Regions from separate parts of the Homo sapiens genome. Here region 2 is linked to region 1. The links are contacts of gene promoters, found by promoter capture Hi-C in human tissues and cell types (Jung and others, 2019). All regions are on one chromosome and are shown on one strand. The core of a region is centred on a gene start or on the middle of the fragment in contact, and the rest is flanking DNA. Distances in the headings are between cores, read along the strand shown. Region 1 holds the start of SAMD10 (sterile alpha motif domain containing 10). Region 2 holds the start of NPBWR2 (neuropeptides B and W receptor 2).

Region 1 (3,075 bases), core at 1-2,500:
CTGCTTCCCGAGTGCTCTGATGCAGTCCGGAGACCTGTCTGTGAGAGTGGGACCCATGGTCCCCTCCCTCTGAACCCATGGCCCCCTCCCTCTGAACCAGCCCAGCTGCCCGCCCTCGCCCCTGGTGCGCCCTGTCCGAGCAGAGCTGTACCCTGTCCAGTTGTGTAGAGCTTGTGTGTACTGGTTATGGGCACACCTGTCTGTGTGCGTCCTGTGCGCACACTGCTGCCCTACGCTTTTAGCACTCATATTCTTGAACCCCCATTCAGGCATCTGTCCCTCCAGTGGGACTAGAGACCCCACCCACGCCCGCCAACATGCCTTGGACATTCTGGTGAGGGCCACATCCTTAGCTCCTGGAGAGCTAATTGACGAAATAAATAACCGCAGCTGAGCTGTCGGGAACACGTCAGTACATGAACATGGCTGTCAAGCATGTGGGTGAATTCTGTGTGTGTGATTAGTGGGGTGTGTGCACAGAGGTCACGTGTGCTCGTGTTTTGGGTGCAAGTGCATGACTGTACTCTGTGCATGCATTTCTACATGTCTGTGTGCATCTCTGGTCCTCCTGCTGTAAGACATCCTCCAGAGCCCCTACATACACCCAGGGAGAGCACCCAGGCTCCTGGGCAGAGCAAGCCGAATAGCTGGTTGCAAGCCTGGCCTGCTGCTGCACCAGGCAACCACAGTTCCCTAGCCCAGCCCCATCTCAGCACTTCTCACTGGAGTCCTGGAGCAAACACACCGCTCCGGCCTGCTACAGCCTCCTTGGAGTTCCCCTCTGCCCCATCTCCAGGCAAGCCAAGCCCCTTTCAGTTACAGAGCACTGTACCGCCCCCTCTCCCCCGGGCACTGAGCCAGGTTCTGGGGCTGCAGAGGGAAGGGAGAACCACCCTGATGTTCACAGTGGGGTGGGCGGTAAGCAAGAGTCAAGCTGGTTTCTCCGGGGAAGCGGGTGCCTATTTGAAGGCGAGTAAAGACGTAGGAGACCGAGGAAAGTGTGTGGGAGGCGTTGACCTGCCCCTTGTCCTGGCCCCGGTAGGTAGAAGACCCCTGTGAGATGCCCCTCAGCCCACCCCCACGCACAGAGGGGCCCGACCTCAGAGGACGCCCGGCAGGTTCACGGGGACTCTCCTCCGCGGAGCCGTGCCCAGGGGCGCACGGACGCCCCTCGCCCTGGCGGACAGCCTTGGTGCACGCAGGCCCGCGCGCCGCCGACACACCTCGGAGCTCCCGGAGCGCGCCCGGCACACAGGGCTCGGCGGCAGGTGCCTCGTCGCGCACACTCGCGGGCCGCGGGGACCGGCTCGGGCGCGGGGCCGGCTGGGGCGGGGCGGGGCGGCGGCGCGCGTTCCCCGCCGGCCACACCGGCCGCCCTGCACTCGGCGAGGGGCGTGTGCGCGGGCCTGGCACCCGCGGGCCCCATGTTCACCGAGCTGAGGTCCAAGCTGAGCCCCCCGCGTGGCCGCGCCGGGGCCGTGCGCGCGGGCTTCGGGGAGCGCCGGGATGTGGACGGTGAGCGGGGCTGGATTGGGGAGCGGGGATTTCTCGGGCGGGGGTCTCAGGGACCCAGAGGCACGGGGGCGGGGCGGGACCCGGCGGGCTTCGAGCGGCGGTGGCTGGGGGTATTCGGCGGATGTCTCGGCTCAACGGGGTCCCGTAGCCTTTGTCCTGCTTTAGGGGGCAGCCAGCCTCAGGCCTTGGGGGTCAGCGCGCCCTTGGCTTGGGGTGAGGGGGTGTCAAGCCGGGGCGCCTGTGTCCAGGCTGGCACTACGCTCGGGTCACCTTTTCCTGCGCACGGGGAAAACCCTCCCCCGCTTTTGCAGTGGGGCCGAAAGGGGGCCGAGGTCACATCCCGCCTCGGTGCCCCCGCCCCATTTCCTTCTGGAATCCTGACGTTGGGGCGGGAGGGACCGGACCGACAGACCGCGGGACGGACGGAACTCCCTCCGGGAGTGCAGGCAGGAAATGGGCGGAGCCTGCTTGGCCGGGGCAGGTGCCGTGCGGGCTGAGGAGTCCGACGGGTTTCCCCGGACTGCCGCGCGCTTCTGCACCAGCCCCGCCGCTCGAGGCCCTGCAAAGCCCGGCGACCACGGCGCCTGTCCGCTGGAAGGCGCGGGCTTAGAATAAGCCTTTTCCCACAGCACTAGGGGCCACCTCGGGGCGGTGGCCCACTGAGCACACCCTCTGCTGACCCCAGACCTCAAATTTGGAGTCACCCAGGGGTCCGGTTCCTGAAAGTTGCAAGAATGGGGGCGGAAGGTGTTATGTCTCCTAAGTCTTACAGGCGTGGGAGGACGGGGAAGTAGGATGTGGTTTTCACCGATACTTAGACCTCCTAGACACATCCCCAACCCCTGCCCTGGGTGTGGAGTGGGTGGCTGAGTCTGAGGCCGGGAGGGTCTCTCACTCTAGGGTGGATGGGATGAGGGCCCTAGCGTGGGAACCTCACCTGCCCTGCTGAAGGCCTGGGTGCTAGGGTGCTGTAAAGACAGGGGCAGGCCTGTGCCCACCTTCTGTCTCCCCACAGGCTCTGTTCACTTGCAGATACCATACAGAGCCTTCATTCATTCATTCATTGACAATGAATGTGGGGTGCCCCTCTGTAACCAGACCTGGATCAAGACGCCTGCCTCCCCAGACTCAGGTCAGCAGTGCCCCCAGAGATGATGACAAAGCTCAGATGAAACACTTTAATGCAGTTACTGTGGGAAGAGGGAGCACAGAGCATCACCGTGGGTCCCCAAGCAATGGCTGCACCCCACATACCTGTGCTGACCCGCCCATATCCAATGGGTACCCACCATTCACATGGCCGGTGTTGTCCCGGGCTGCAGGCCCTGTGGGGGGCGGCACAGCTGGAGAGCCCAGCGCGTGTTTGCGGAGTGAGCCCTGCTTGTCAGTTGGCCCACAGTTCAGGCTGTCAATGAGTCATAGTCAGTGAGTCGGGCCCCAACACCAGATAGGGCTGTGTGAACTGGGTGCCTTCAGTGGCGATGGGCAAGCAGCATCCTCAGCCCGGTTTCCCCAGCACAGACGACCTCCCCGGACTCGGGATCTGCCTTTCCTCAAAGC
Region 2 (3,075 bases), core at 415-2,914, 130 kb before region 1:
TTTCCAGGAGCTGTGAACTGACCCCTCCCGACCCCACGAACACCCCAAATCACAAAATTCAGCCCCAATGCACCCTCTCCTCACGGCTGCTAATCACCATCCCCTGACCTTGTGGGCGTCAAGCTCCACTTATGTGACAAACTGTGGCTACAAGCCCCACGCTCCCTCGAGACACACCCACAGATCCCCCCCACCGCCATCCCCAAACTGGCTGAAGAGGAGTGTGAGATATCTCAGCAGGGTTCCCTGACCCCGGACTCAACATCCACATGGCACAGCCCATAGAAGGGTAGCTCGGGGCCCACCCACAGTGTACCCTCAGGCTGGCGACATCAGGGTACTCAGGGCGACTGCCCAGGCTCCTGTCCTAACCAATAGACTTGACAGAGCAACTCTCAGGAAAGAAGGCCGACCATGAGTGTGCGGTGACATCCTTGCAACCCCACAGGCAGCGGGCACAGTCTCGATGGGCAGACACATCTCCCCAGACTGAAAACACACAGTGACCAGGCACGGTGGGTCATGGCTATAACCTGAGCACTTTGGGAGGCTGAGGTAGAGGCTGAAGCTCAGGAGATCGAGACCAGCCTGGGCAACATGGTGAAACCCCGTCTCTACAAAAAAAAACACAAAAATTAGCCAGGCATGGTGGCACATGCCTGTAGTCCCAGCTACTTGAGAGGCTGAGGTGGGAGGATCACCTGAGCCCAGGGAGGTCAGGGCTGCAGTGAGCCATGATAGTGCCACTGCACCCCAGCCTGGGTGACAGGGCAAGACCCTGTCTCAAAAAAGAAGAAAGGAAAGAAAACACAGACCCTCTGACCCAACACGTCTCCGCTGAGGAGCGGCTCTGAGACTGGCGACTGCTCGTGTCAGCTGTGGCGTTGCCTGCAAAGCAGGTCCAGATGCGGCCGAGCTGCACACACACGGGTTGGATAAGCCAGGGTGCGTCCAGCAAGGAAGAAAAGCAGGGAGAAGGGAAGGACTTAAAGACCAACCCAGAGCAGAGTGTGATGCTCACCACCTCTGCAGGACGGCGGGAGAGTTACGTGTCAGCGTGAGAACGTCTTCTCTGCAGCCTTTCACAGCTTGCCTAGGCTGAGTTCCTCTTTTAGCAAAAGACAAAAAAAGAAGGTGGGTTGCCTATGGCCAACAAGTTCTGCTTCCACATGAGGGCATACAGACCCCCCAGATGCCCACACTCAGCCAAGGACATGTAGACCCACTCAGATACAACGCAGAGCTCACCCACAGAGACCCCCATACAGGCAGACACAGGCCCACACACGTACATGTCCTAACTGGCACACACACACAGGAACACACCATGTACACACACAGGGTGGGGCAGGAGACCCACCAAGACACCCATGTTCACAGATAAGGGTGCCCAGGCCCACAGTGACTCCCGGACAGAGGCACAGATGCCTTCAGTGCCCTCTGCCCGAAGACCTGGGCACACCCAGAGGCCCCTGCATGGAGTCCCTTCCTGACACACAGGCGCACACGTGCCTCAGCCGCCCACTGAGGAGTCTGCCTGGGTAAGTGAATGCTGAGGAGACCCTGGGACAGCCGACTGCAGGCGCTACTGCAGCTCAGGGGAAGGTGGGGCCTGCCTTCCGGGCTCCACGTCAGCAAGGGGGATCCGCCTCCCTCCCTCACCAGCATCAGCACTGACACCAGGCTGGGAACCTCGCAGCCGGGGCTGAGGCAGCCAGCAGGGCAGGTCTTGAAACTCCTGAAACCTCAGCTGGAGGTCTGTCAGTGAGGACCACACCTCGCCCTCCATCCCTGCGACTGCCTGTACTGGCCAAAACCAGGAACACACCAAGGCTACCAACTTCTGGACTCGAAGCACTGGACAGGTCAGTGGAGAGAAGAGTAGCTGGACCAGCAGGGTCTGCAGCATCTCTCGGGAGGGTGTGAGGGAGGGTGCAGACTCCAAGACCCCTGAGGGAAGGACCTTCAGATTCAAGGGAGCCAGAGATGAGCTTGGGAGGTGTGTTTCCAAAGGGACCGCTTGATTCTACGCAGCCCGTGCATCTGCGGGTTGCTGGGGCAGGGACGGATCCACATCTCTTCCCAGGAGGGTGGCCAGCAGCTGCTCTCTGCGGGAGGAGGGAACTGATCTGCTGAAGTCTCACCAGGAAGAGGCGGGAGGAGGCCCCCACACACCCCACCAGGCTCCCTCTGGCCCCATGTCCTTGACCTGGCAAAGTGGCCGCAGTCTCTGCCAGAGAACCTGGAGTGGCTGTGCCCTAACAGACGGCCGGATCTCAAAGTCTCTGGTTGTTTTTCTTTCCTAGAATCCAGCCCAAGGAGGCCCCCAACCAGATACCCAACTCCAAGGCACCTCCCACCTGCCCAGGGCGCAAATCGTCAACGGTCCCAGCTACAATGCAGGCCGCTGGGCACCCAGAGCCCCTTGACAGCAGGGGCTCCTTCTCCCTCCCCACGATGGGTGCCAACGTCTCTCAGGACAATGGCACTGGCCACAATGCCACCTTCTCCGAGCCACTGCCGTTCCTCTATGTGCTCCTGCCCGCCGTGTACTCCGGGATCTGTGCTGTGGGGCTGACTGGCAACACGGCCGTCATCCTTGTAATCCTAAGGGCGCCCAAGATGAAGACGGTGACCAACGTGTTCATCCTGAACCTGGCCGTCGCCGACGGGCTCTTCACGCTGGTACTGCCCGTCAACATCGCGGAGCACCTGCTGCAGTACTGGCCCTTCGGGGAGCTGCTCTGCAAGCTGGTGCTGGCCGTCGACCACTACAACATCTTCTCCAGCATCTACTTCCTAGCCGTGATGAGCGTGGACCGATACCTGGTGGTGCTGGCCACCGTGAGGTCCCGCCACATGCCCTGGCGCACCTACCGGGGGGCGAAGGTCGCCAGCCTGTGTGTCTGGCTGGGCGTCACGGTCCTGGTTCTGCCCTTCTTCTCTTTCGCTGGCGTCTACAGCAACGAGCTGCAGGTCCCAAGCTGTGGGCTGAGCTTCCCGTGGCCCGAGCAGGTCTGGTTCAAGGCCAGCCGTGTCTACACGTTGGTCCTGGGCTTCGTGCTGCCCGTGTGC

Evidence for each region. The method cuts DNA at HindIII sites, captures the fragments that hold promoters and counts their contacts. A contact is called where the count stands out against the background at its distance.
Region 2: the fragment with the promoter of NPBWR2 here is called in contact with the fragment with the promoter of SAMD10 in region 1 in 1 of the 25 tissues and cell types used here (spleen).

What each region holds. Positions count from the first base shown.
Region 1 is chr20:63,977,817-63,980,891 of GRCh38, reverse strand. SAMD10 (sterile alpha motif domain containing 10) reads left to right here and starts at 1,250. Exons shown (of 5, transcript NM_080621.5): 1 at 1,250-1,515. The coding sequence starts at 1,425. RefSeq lists enhancers at 646-705, 1,301-1,816, 1,802-2,096 and a silencer at 1,136-1,455. The HindIII fragment of the contact is 26,934 bases long and covers 1-3,075 here.
Region 2 is chr20:64,106,154-64,109,228 of GRCh38, reverse strand. It overlaps NPBWR2 (neuropeptides B and W receptor 2), which reads left to right and starts at 1,664. Exons shown (of 2, transcript NM_005286.4): 1 at 1,664-1,865; 2 at 2,307-3,075. The coding sequence starts at 2,398. RefSeq lists an enhancer at 1,616-2,116. The HindIII fragment of the contact is 24,186 bases long and covers 1-3,075 here.